Regions from separate parts of the Homo sapiens genome. Here all the other regions are linked to region 2. The links are contacts of gene promoters, found by promoter capture Hi-C in blood cells and fetal thymus (Javierre and others, 2016). All regions are on one chromosome and are shown on one strand. Each heading gives the region's core, a stretch centred on a gene start or on the middle of the fragment in contact. The rest is flanking DNA. Distances are from core to core; before and after follow the strand shown.

Region 1 (4,369 bases), core at 612-3,111, 87 kb after region 2:
TCTTTTCTTCTGCTGGGTTTGGGTTTGGATTGTTCTTGTTTCTCCAGTTCCATGAGGTGTGACCTTAGATTGTCTATTTGTGCTCTTTCAGACATTTTGATGTAGGCATTTAATGCTACGAACTTTCCTCTTAGCACCACTTTTGCTGTATCCCGGAAGTTTTGATAGGTTGTGTCACTATTATCATTCAGTTCAAAAAATTTTTAAATTTCCATCTTGATTTCATGGTTGTCCCAATGATAATACAGGAGCAGGTTATTTAATTTGCATGTATTTGCATGGTTTTGAGGGTACCTTTTGCTGTTGATTTCTAATTTTATTCCACTATGGTCCGATAGAGTACTTGATGTAATCTCAATTTTCTTAAATTTACTGAGACTTGTTTTATGACTTATCATATGGTCTATCTTGGAGAATGTTCCATGTGCTGATGAAAAGAATGTATATTCTGCAGTTGTTGGATAGCATTCTATCCTGTATTCTATAAATATCTGTTAAGTCCATTTATTCTAGGCTATAGTTTAAGTCCATTTTTTCTTTGTTGACTTTCTGTCTTGGTGACCTGTCTTGTGCTGTCAGTGGAGTATTAAAGTCCCCCACTATTATTGTGTTGTCATTTATCTCATTTCTTAGGTCTAGTAGTAATTGTTTTATAAATTTGGGAACTCTAGTTTTAGGTGCATATATATTTAGGATTCTGATATTTTCCTGTTGGACTAGTCTTTTTACCATTATATAATTTCCCTTTTTGTCTTTTTTATCTGCTGTTGCTTTAAAGCTTGTTTTGTGTGATGTAAGAATAGCTACTTCTGCTCACTTTTGGTGTCTATTTGCACGGAATATCTTTTTCCACCCCTTTACCTGAAGTTTATGTGAGTCCTTATGTGTTAGGTGAATCTCCTGAAGACAGCAGAAACTTGATTGGTGAATTCCTATCCATTTTGCCATTCTAATATTAGTACTGAGGTGTAAGGGACTATTCTATTCATCAGCCTGTTTGTCGCTTAAATACCTTTTTTTTTCATTGTGTTACTGTTATATAGTTCCTGTGAGATTTATGCTTTAAGGAGGTTTTAGCTTGGTGTTTCAAGGATTTGTTTCAAGATTTAGAGCTCTTTTTAGCAGATCTTGTAGTGCTGGCTTAGTAGTGGTGAATTCTCTCAGCATTTGTTTATGTGGAAAAGACTATCTTTCCTTCATTGATGAAGTTTAGTTTTGGTGGATACAAAATTCTTGGCTGATAGTTGTTTTTTTTTTAAGGAGGCTTAAAATATGACCCCAATCCCTTCTAGCTTGTAGAGTTTCTGCTGGGAAATCTGTCGTTACTCTCATAGGTTTCTTCTTTACAGGTTACTTGATGCTTTTGCCTCACAGCTCTTAAGCTTCTTTCTTCATCTTGACTTTAGATAACCTGGTGACTATGAGCCTAGATGATGATCTTTTTGAGATGAATTTGTCAGGTGTTCTTTGAGCTTCTTGTATTTGGATGTCTAGGTTTCTACCAAGGTCAGGGAAGTTTTCCTCAACTGTATTTTCAAATATGTTTTCCAAACTTTTAGATTTCTCTTCTTCCTCAAGAACACCAATTATTCTAAGGTTTGGTCATTTAACATAATACCAAACTTCTTGGAAACTTTGTTCTTTTTTAAAATTCTTATTTATTTGCCTTAGTTGGATTGGGTTACTTCAAAAACCTTGTCTTAGAGCTCTGAAGTTCTTTCTGTTGCTTGTTCAATTCTATTGCTAAAACTGCATTTCTCTAAGTGTGTCCTTGATTTCCAGAAGTTGTGATTGTTTTTTATTTATGCTATTTCCCTGAAGATTTTCCTTTCATATTCCATATCATATTTTTTATTTCAAGGAGCAGAATACTATTTTTGGATGTCTTAACACAGGAAAAGGAAATAGAACTCTGTGTGCCCAGTTCCTTTACCTGTAAAATTAAGATAACCATAGTCCTACCTCGTAAAATTGTGGCAAGGATTAATTGTTTAATTTATATAACACACTCAGAATGATTCCTGGCACTTAACTAAGGGTACTTAAACGTTAGCTCTCCTATTTGAAACTGATTGGAGGATTATTCCCTAATGTGCTAGTTCTGCAGGAAAGTGAGTTAATTTCAAGAAAACTGGCCAGGGAACATTTTAATGCCAGCTCAACTACTCACAATGGAGAGGCAGAAATAGCCATTCACTTGGTGACTGAAGCAAGCATGTTGCAGCAAAGATCCCAGGGTATAGACAGAAGCACTGCTACCTGGCACACACACACCAGCTGTCTACAATGGCACACTTTACTTTCCTGGTTTCTTGGTTCTGTCTACCATTTGAGGAGCTAAAAGCTTTCACCAGAATAACACAGGCATCTTTCAGGAAGCCAGAAAAAGGATCCTGTGCTCTGTGAAGATAAGCTGCACTCTCCTCAGGCACGTGCCAGGCAAGAGAGGAATCCCCGCTCCATTCTTCAAATCCAATTTGTCAACTCACATTTAGTTCCCTTTTCACTTGTTGCATCATTCTTATTGTTATTTTTGCACCATCCGGTTCACTGTACAGTCCCTGTGCAGTCATTGTACAGTCCCTGTTTATCTATGATGAAATAAAACTGCATTTAGTTGTAAGTTTTAATGGTATGAAGGGTTTTTGGTTTAACTTTAAAGAAGTGCCAGAAACTGCTTCAGAGACAGGAAGCTCCTGCAGAAAACCGATAATAGACATGTTCACCTGTTTGTGGAGGGAATGGAGCTGGTGCTTATTCAGCAGCTGCTGTGTGTTGTCTGTGTATTCTCTTCTTAACTCTAGGCCTGGCTGCATTTATGCCTGAGAGTGGTTGTGAGGATTAAATACGTCCAGCTCAGACAAGTGCTTGATACCGAAAGAGAAAAGTAAACCCAGGCTGGAGGCTCACTGAAGTCTGTATTGGATAGAGCCAATGTGGAGTTTCTCGCAGAGGGAGTCCAGGTAGCACCTGGTAGAAGATGTTGGGTGGGCAGCTGTAGGGGCCAGGGGAAATCTTGCCCTTTGACCTCTGAAGGTTCCGTGAAAATCAATTGACAAAAGGCAGATAGATTAATAGGTGAAAAGGCATACAAATTAATTTTATCATAGTTTTATGTGTCATGGGAGCCTTCAGATTGAAGGGCCAAAGACACCATTTCTATGCTTAGGTTAATGAAGAATTGGACAGCTATGTAGAAAAATGACTGGATAAAAAGGGCATGATCTAATGCTAATAGACTGAGTGAGGAAGCCTAGCAAGGCCTGTCTGTCTAGATTCTTCTGGGCTTTTTTGTGCAACATTCCTTACTCTGGGAATGGGGCAGGGCCCTCTCTGAATGGAGTTATAATCTACTTTTAGATAAAACAGGTAAAATAATTTCTTTATGGCCAGTTTTTATGCAGAAAGACAAGGAGAAGGTTGAATTAATATGATTAGGTTTTATGGTTGTCATTGGGGAAAGGATTTCTGGTTTCTATGGCCTGCCTTGGGAAGAGAGATTCTAGAGAATAAGGGTCAAAGAGAGAGGGGCAGGAGGAAGTCAGAGAAAGTTTTGCTTCTGAGGCTGCTTCTGTGGCCGTCATTTTGGGGTATTGTTTTCTGAGCCTCAGCACAGCCCTTGTGTATCCCTGGGCCATCAATCCATTGATGAGAGCATTCTAACTGTGGCTGGCGGTGAAGAGTGTAGGACCCTCTGGTTGTGTTTGCATAAAGGAGAAGGGTCATTATTGTGAGAAAGAAAAAGTAGTGTCTTTTTCTCACCCATTACAAGGTTCATGGCTAATACCCCTATAATAAAAGAAGATTAACAAGAGAAAACCATAACTAATTTTAGAAACAATTTTTTTTATGAGAGACAAGACGATTTAGAAATGAAGATCCAAAGACCCAGGGAAACTGTCTATTTTTACGCTTAGGTTTATTGAAAAATGGACAGTCATGTAAAAGCATATTGGACAAAAAGGGGATATGAAGTATTGTTAATAAACTGAGGGGGGACTTAGCAAGGCCTACTTGTTCAGATTATTCTTGGTGTCTCTGTGTCTTTATTCCTTTCCTCCAGAAGCAGGGAAGGACACCTGTCACATGGGGGTCTTGCGACCTACTTTCAGGGGAGATAGGACAAAGCATTATTTTATGGCCAACTTTCACACAGAAAGGTTAGACAAGGTCAGAGAATGACCTTGAGTCTGCAGTTTTCTGAATTTTCAAGGTGCCATTATTTTGGGGTAGCATGTCGGGAACCCTGATATTAACATGAGTTAGGCAGAGCTCCCCCGCATCCCCCCTGCCCAGTGAAGTGGCCTAGTTCCTCCTGGGTTCCAAGGTGACAGAAGAGAAACTGAGGAATGGATCTAGTCAAAGACTT
Region 2 (4,160 bases), core at 290-2,789:
AGGAATAAAAGAAACCACTGCGAAGGTGGCTTTGAATATTCTTTAAAAAAACAAAACAGGCTGGGCGCGGTGGCTCAGGCATGTAATCCCAGCACTTTGGGAGGCCAAGGCGGGTTGGATCACTTGAGGCCAGAAGTTCAAGACCAGCCTGGCCAACATGGCAACTTACAAAAAAAAAAAAAAAAAAGCCGGATGTGGTAACGTATGCCTGTAATCCCAGCTACCTAGCTGCTCAGGAGGCTGAGGCAGGACAATCACTTGAACCTGGGAGGTAGAGGCTGCAGTGAACCGAGACAGCGCCACTGCACTCCAGCCTGGGCGACAGATCAAAACTCTGTTCTCAAAAATAAATAAAAAATAAAAAACAAAACAACAACAACAACAAAAAATCCATGTGTGCAGAGTGGTTGACATGTCACTATGTGTTCCAGTAGCTCAGCTTGCTAAGTGCAGAACTTGAGACACAGTGTTTTAGTTCTGAAGGGGGGTAGGGATGGGAGTAATCCAAATGTTGGGTAATTCAGTAATTGGACACACCTGACTTTTGAACACATTATGTGATTGAGGTTAGTATTAACATCTTGCCACTGCCTATTAACATTTTGCAAGGGTAGATAGTTTCCTTCATCAGATACATATCGAAAGCAGTTTAGTTGCTCATACCAGAAGAGGGAAGTCAAGCTGGGTTTAACAATGTGTTGTGAGTTGCTGGGGAGATGACTAAGAGAAGATTGACAGATAGATGGTTTGAGGGAGTTAGGAAAAGCACTGTTTGAAATGTTCCCTGGGAGTTCAGAAGAGTGACGGGAGTGGCCCTGCCAGTGTGGTCAAGATTTACTCCTCCTTGAAGATGTGAAACCTCCTAGAAACAAGGAAAATAAGCTGGGAGGCAGAATGATTTTTATTTGGGGACATCCTCCCCTATAAAGGCAGGAACTGCTAAAGGGTTTGGGAAGAGGAAATCCTCCTTCAGCTTGTATCAGAATTACCTGGCTTGTGGGTTAAACATATACACCCCCAGGCCCTACCGCTATATGACTGAATCTGTTCCCCGCCGGAACTAGGCCCTGAAATCTATACGTGTGATAGGTGTTTCCACGGCTGTTACATCTAAAAATCACCCCGCAACTCTGCGTCTGAGAAAGTCAAGAGAAGGCTCCTGGGGGGAGGGAAGTACTGGCAGAGGGCTCACAAGGGCAGGGGTAGCCATGCAGCCTGTCCTTCCCATTCAACTGTAAAATGGAGAAAATAACAGAGCCTGCTTCCTAGGGTGGTCAAGAGGGGTAAGTTAGCAAATACCTGCATGAGCTCCAAGGGGTGCCTGGGCACGGTAGCGCTGCGCCTTGCTGGCGGGCGGGGGGTGCCGCCCGCCCGCCCGCCGCAGAGGGGAGCTCCCGCCTCCAGGCCCTCCACCCGCGCCCCCTCCCCTCGGGATTCGGCCGAGCGCCCTACCTGGGCTGCAGCCAGGCGGGCAGCGCCAAGGGCCCCATGGGCCGCCGCCGCCAGGGCTTCCAGCGCGGTCCAGGAAGGAGTACCGGGGAGGAGGCAGGGGCGGCCCCGCGGCTGGGCGCGGAAGGGCGGGGCCTCTCCACACTCAGCAGTTTACAAAAAGAAAAAGCCCGAGGTCGTGCGTTGGGGAAGAGATGAAAACGAAGTTCTCGAAGTTTCTGCAGCACTGCTAGAGCGCGTCAGGGCGCAAGGCTGGGAGGCGGCTCGCGTTCCCGGTGGGGTTACCAAACTCTGGTTACAGCTTCCTAATCTTTGTGTTGAGACCCCCTTGCAAGCCTTCTGGAAATTAATGCATCTGGGCGATTTCCGGGGCCTCCGAACTCGCTGAAGCCCATCCCCAAACCTCCCGAGATGAGTGGATTCCAGGGTGGGCTCTGCTCAATGCCCACCGGTGAGCCAGGTTCAGACACGAAGCTTGTGCCGGGCGCAGTGGCTAATGCCTATAATCCCAGCACTTTGGGAGGCCGAGGCGGGAGGATCTTTTGAGCCCAGGAGTTCGAGACCAGCCTGGGCAACATAGCGAAAACGCGTCTCTACTAAATGTACAAAAATTAGTCGGGCATGGTGACGCGGGCCTGTGGTCCCAGCTACTCCAGAGGCTGAGGTGGGAGGATCGCTTGAGCCTGGGAGGTCGAGGCTGCAATGAGCCAAGATCACGCGGCTACACTCCAGCCTGGGTAACAGAGCGAGATCCTGTCTCAAAAAATAAATAAAAATAAAACGAAGTTTGTAGCACACCTCCCCAACACTTTTTCAGCTAGGGGCCTGATTCCTCTTCTATCAGGCCTCCCTGCTCTCTAATCTCCCTTGGGTTCTCACTGGTGCCTGCAAATCTTTATTCACGTTGTGTTAATTTCTCTAGCCTATGCCCAGCACTGCTACAACCCCTTCGTGATCTCTCAGGCTTATGACATCACTGTCTCCGTACACAGATGACCCACCCTCCTGCTTTGCTAATAAGATCCAGCCCATCTTCAAGCTCCTCTGCCCAGAAAGGGAAACGTTAAAACAAAAACAGAAACATCTAAGAAGGCACTTGCAAGTAAGTGGGACAATGGCACCTGGTTTTGGAGTTGGAAGTTAGCGCCCCCATTTTTACCAAAAGGGAAGTTGAGGCATTAAAAAAATGTTAAGTCACTTGGCACAGGTCACACAATTGATAAAATGGCAGTATCAGAACTTCAAGGTTGGTGGGATTTCTTGTTTGTTTCCCATTAGGCCGTGGCTTCCTTTTTTCATAGTCCATTCCATTCACTATGCCTACCTCTCACCTCTACATTTCTCTGCACCTTCTCTCATACCCTGCCCTCAGTCGGAGGTTAACCCCAACTTTGTGTTTACCAGTCCCTTCTCAGACTCACTGCATCAGTAGTTAACCATCGCCTCTTCTTGCATCGTCATCCCCTCCTTTCCATTGGCTTTCACTGCACTTTAGGGACATAGACAACTCTCTCTTAGCATATAATTAAACATTGTATTCTTTCTGTTTCTCTCTCAATGGAATCTTCTAATAACTCCCTGCCTGCCTTCTCTGATCAGGTGCTTCTTTCATTTCCTACCATCTTCCTGTTCCATAATACCTTACAGTTTGACTCTCCTGACACTGCTCCGTCCGCGAGCATGTTAATTTTTCGCCGAATCCCTATCCTGTATCACCTTGCAGGATGATGCCCCACGGTCCTTGCTTTTACAGAACATTTGATCTAAAGGGTAAACTGGTGGCTAACCCATTATCAATGCTATCTCTGATCAGGTTAAGCAGCAAGAGAGAAAGTAAAGTCCCAGATGGCCTGCAGTGGGGCAGGAGGGAGAAGGTGGAAAGCCTGCCCAGAAGAATTGATCCTTTGTCACCAAACACAGCCCCTGCATCCACATCCTCATTGACAGGTCTGCTGCATTTTACCAGTTCTGTCTGTCTGCCATTTACCCCTGAAGTTCTACATATTCTACGTCTCTTGCCTTATGTCCCTTCTGTCTCTCTGGATGGGTCTTCTTCTCCTGCTGTATTTCCTCAAAAGTCTGCCCTTAGTCACCATCCATTTGTCACCATGTTATCCCTCAGCATAGACAACCACACATGGCTTTATCTCCATGTGGACAACTTTTGACTATTATTTTCAGCCCTTTCTTCTTTTATGAATACTATCTCTGGCCTTTGAGCAGCTTTTGGATATTTCCTCATGAAAGTCCTATTGTTTGGACTATCTTTGGAACGTCTTCCAATTCAACCTATTTAAAATAAGCATACTATCTCTCTTCCTAAATCATTATTTCCCACAGAAAGACCACCATTTTTCTAGCCACTTGATTTTAAATTGGGGAGTCATCATTAAGCACCCCATCCAATCAAATTCGATTGATCCCATCCTTTCCAGATCTCCTACTAATCAGTAGTGTTCTTTGTCCATTCCTTATTTTCCAGTACCTGGGTGAGGAGTAATTGGCCTCCCTCACATCCATTCTTTACATCATAACTCAGTTGACTTTCTGGAGCGTCTTGGGTTATATCTTTCTGCTGCACAAAAAGAGGCCCTTTTTAGTTGCCAAAAAAGAACAAGCCAATCAGTCGAAAAATAAAAAATCCTTTCAAATCAAGCAGTTAGCTGATTCTACGTTATTTCCCAAGGAAAGAGTACAAAAAGAGCTTAGGA
Region 3 (4,157 bases), core at 1,356-3,855, 71 kb after region 2:
CCTACAGAAAAGATGTTATTATTCTCATTCTATAGAGAAGGAAACTGAGGCTGCTCAAAAATGTTAAGCATATTTTCCAAGGTCAAACAATTAATCAGTGGGAAGCCAGAATTTAAATACTGTTTCAGAATCTGAACAGATCTCATGATCTTAGCCTCATTAATATAATGATAATCAGATGTTTGTGCAGCGCTTTAAAAAAACTTACTTTACTTATTTATCTGTCTTTTCAGAGACAATGTCTTGCTCTGTTGCCCAGGCCGAAGTGTAGTGGCACAATCGTAGCTCACTGAAGCCTCCAAATGCTGGGCTCCAGCAATCCTCCCATTTCAGCCGCCTGAGTAGCTGGGACTATGGGTGCATGCCACCACACGTGGCTACTTTTTAAATTTTTAAATAGAGACAGGGTCTCACTATATTGCCCAGGTTCACCTCGGACTCCTGGCGTCCAGCTATCCTCCCACCTTGGCCTCCTAAGGCATTGGAATTATAGGCATGAGCCACCATGCTTTAAAATTTTAATTAAAGTAAAATGCTCATAACATAAAATGTATCACCTTAGATACTTTTAAAGGGTGCAGTTCAGTAGTGCTATATTCACATTGTAGTGAAAATAGTCTCCAGAACTCTTTTCGTCTTGCAAAATTTAAACCCTATACTTATTAACAACTCACTGTTTCTCCCTTTCCCAAAATCCTACACTTTCTGTATCTATAAATGTGACTATTCTAGATACCTGATAATAAGTGGTCATATACTATTTGTTTATATGTGTGATGGGCTTATTTCAGTTAGTGTACGGTGCTCCAGAATCCTCTTGCAGCATGTGTCACAATTTCCTTCTTTTTTTTAGACTGAATAATATTCCATGATATGTATTGACCACATTTTTTAAAAATCCATTCATCCGTCCATAGGCATTTGGGTTACTTCTATCTTTTGACTACTGTGAGTACTTTTGCTTTGGATATATACTTAGTAGTGGAATTGCTGGATATATAATAATTCAATTTTTAATTTTTGAGGAACCACCGTACTGTTTTTCATAACTCCTGCATCATTTTACATTCCCAAAAGCAGCCCACAAGAGATCCTATTTCTCCACATCAAAACGTTATTTTTTTCTTTCTTCTTTTTCTTTTTTTATCATTGCCATCTTAATGGGTGAGAGGTGATATGTTTTTGTGGTTTTGATTTGCATTTCCTCAGTGACTAATGATGTTGAACAACTTTTCATGTTCTTGTTGTCCATTGTGTATCTTATTTGGAGAAATGGCTATTCAAGTTATTTGCAGATTTTATAATTGGATGTCTGTTTTGGTTGAGTTGTAAAAGTTATTTATATATTCTGAATACTAGTCCTTTCTAAGATATAAGATTTGCAAATAGTTTCTTCCATTCTATAGGTTGCCTTTTCACTTTCTTGATAGTGTCTTTTGAGCACAATAGTTTTAAATGTTGATGAAGTCCAATTTATCTGTTTTCTTTTGTTGCTTATGCCTTTCCTATCTTATCTAAGGATTCATTGGCAAATCCAAATCATAAAGATTAATCTCTACATTTTCTTCTAAGGCTTTGCTCTTACATTTAGGTATTTGATATATTTGAAATATTTTTTATATGATGTGAAGTTGGGGTACAATTTCATTATTTTGCATGTGAATATCCAGTTGCTAGGGCAACTGGGTATTGTTCTTTCCACATTGAGTGGTCCTCGTACCCTGGTTGAAAATCAATTGACTATAAACATATGGGTTTATTTCTGGACACTCAGTTCTATTGCATTGGTCTATATGTCTACCTTTATGCAAGTACCACACTGTTTTGATTACACTAGTTTGTAATATATTTTCAAATCAAGGAAGGGTGAGCCCCCCCAAATTTGCCCTTATATTTTCAAGATTCCTTGAGCCCAGGAGGTGGAGGTTGCAGTGAGCTGAGATTGTGCCATTGCACTTCAGCCTGGGTGACAGAGCAAGACTCTGTTTTGAAAAAGGAAAAAAAAAAAAGATTTATTTTGGGTATCCAGAGTCTCTTGCAATTTCATATAAATTTTAGTATTGGATTTTTAATTTCTGCAAAACCAGCCATTGGTATTTGAATCAAAATTGCATGAAATCTATAGATTACTCTGGGGGAATATTGGCATCTAAACAATATTAAGTCTTCCACTTCATGAACATGGAAGGCCTTTCCATTTATATAGGTCTTCTTTAATTTAGTTCGGCAATATTTGCAGTTTTCAGTGGACAACTCTTACATATCCTTTGTTAAATTTATTGCCAAGTATTATATTCTTTTTGATGTTATTATAAATGGAATATTTATTTTAATTTTTTTGAATTGTTCATGGCTAGTGGTCTTTGTTTTCTGTTCCTATAACAGACCACCACAGAGTGGGTAATGTATAAAGAAAAGAAGTTTATTTAGCTCACAGTTCTGGAGTCTGGGAGCTCCAACAATACACAACCAGCATCTGGTGAGAGTGTTCTTGCTGCACCATAGCATGATTGAAATCTGCACACTGTGTATAGGGCAAGTACAAAAGAGCCAGAAAGAGCTGGATAATGCCTAAAAATATGTGAGATGAGAATAGAAAGTTTGAAAGATCCAGCTGAACTCAACAAAACCTATCATTTGAAAGGCAGGGCTAGAACTAGAAACTGGAAAGTTATCTGCATCCTATTCAAGTGTATTATAGTGCCTCTGGAATAAGAGAATGGTGCCTTTTGGTAACTAAGGAAAATGAGAACAGGAATGTAATGTATTAGTCAGAAGGGCAGTCTAATGGTTACCATGGAGACTCTGTGGCTGGACTGCTGGGGTTCTTGTCATAGCCTCAGCCTGCTCCATGTTGTAACCTTGGGCACCTTATTATCCTCCGCTACATGTAAATGATAACCACACATATTTTGATAGGTTGTCATGAAGATGAAGGACAAAAACCTTATGATCATTTCAATTGATGCTCAAAAAGCATCTGATGAAATTCAACATTCATTCATAATAAAAGCTCTAAAAAACCTAGGTATAGAAGGAACATACCTAAACACCATAAACGCCATATAAGACAAACCTACAGCTAGTATCATTCTGAATGGGAAAATTCAAAGCCTTTCTCTAAGGTCTAGAACAAGTCAAGGATGCACACTTTCACCACTTTTTTTCTTTGGGACAGAGTCCCAATCTCTTGCCTAGGCTGGAGTGCAATGGCACAATCTCAGCTCACTGCAACCTCCGCCTCCCGGGTTCGAGCAATTCTCCTGCCTCAGCCTCCCAAGTAGCTGGAGTTACACGTGCCCACCACCATGCCTGGCTAAATTTTTGTACTTTTAGTAGAGACAGGGTTTTGCCATGTTGGCCAGGCTGGTCTCTAACTCCTGACTTCAGGTGATCCACCCCTCTTGGCTCCCCAGAGTGCCAGGATTACAGGCATGAGCCATAGAGCCCAACCACTTTCATCGCTTTTATTCAACATTGTACTAGAAGTCCCAGCCAGAGAAATTAGACAAGACAAAGAAACAAAAGGCATCCAGATTGGCAGGGAAGAAGACAAATTATCCTTTTCCAGAAAAAGCTAAATATTTCACCAAAAATACTATTAGGACTGATAAACAAATTTGGTAAAGTTGCAGGATACAAAATGAACTTACAAAAATCAGCATTTCTTGAAAATGGCTTTTATCCAAAAGACAGGCAATAACAAATGTTGGTAAGACATGTAGAAAAGGAAACTCTTGTACACTGTTGGTGCAAATGTAAACTAGTACAACCACTATGGAAAACAGTTTGGAGGTTCCGCAAAAAACTAAAAATAGAGTGGGATAACCCAGTAATCCCGCTGCTGGGTAGGCACCCAAAAGAAAGGGAATCAGTATATCAAAGGGATAGCTGCACTCCCATGTTTGTTGCAGCACTATTTGCAATAGCCAAGATTTGAATGCAACCTGACTGCCCATCAACAGATGAATGCATGAGGCAAATATGGTATATATACACAATGGAGTGCTATTCAGCCATAAAGAATAATGAGATTCTGTCATTTGTCACTACATGGATGTAACTGGAGGTATTATGTAAAGTGAAAGACAACCTTCACATGTTCTCACTTATTTTGTGGGAGCTTAAAATTAAAACAATTGAACTCATGGATATAG

Evidence for each region. Contacts are between HindIII fragments. The CHiCAGO score rates a contact against its expected background, and 5 or more counts as called.
Region 1: a contact is called between a fragment that was not itself captured here and the fragment with the promoter of HACD4 in region 2, in 1 of 17 cell types (megakaryocytes). The highest score is 5.5, in megakaryocytes.
Region 3: a fragment that was not itself captured here is called in contact with the fragment with the promoter of HACD4 in region 2 in 3 of 17 cell types (neutrophils, monocytes and megakaryocytes); the score reaches 7.0 in neutrophils.

Annotation. Positions count from the first base shown.
Region 1 is chr9:21,116,770-21,121,138 of GRCh38, forward strand. No RefSeq gene overlaps it. Among named protein-coding and RNA genes, the nearest start is that of IFNW1, 23 kb to the right of the region's middle. RefSeq lists an enhancer at 2,222-2,481. The HindIII fragment of the contact is 962 bases long and covers 1,381-2,342 here.
Region 2 is chr9:21,030,101-21,034,260 of GRCh38, forward strand. HACD4 (3-hydroxyacyl-CoA dehydratase 4) reads right to left here and starts at 1,540. Exons shown (of 7, transcript NM_001010915.5): 1 at 1,453-1,540. The coding sequence starts at 1,490. It overlaps LOC105375989 (a long non-coding RNA gene), which reads left to right and starts at 1,542. Exons shown (of 3, transcript XR_007061435.1): 1 at 1,542-1,900; 2 at 2,372-2,551; 3 at 3,263-3,819. RefSeq lists a silencer at 1,316-1,675 and an enhancer at 1,319-1,879. The HindIII fragment of the contact is 3,612 bases long and covers 1-1,921 here.
Region 3 is chr9:21,099,711-21,103,867 of GRCh38, forward strand. No RefSeq gene overlaps it. Among named protein-coding and RNA genes, the nearest start is that of IFNB1, 24 kb to the left of the region's middle. The HindIII fragment of the contact is 5,655 bases long and covers 1-4,157 here.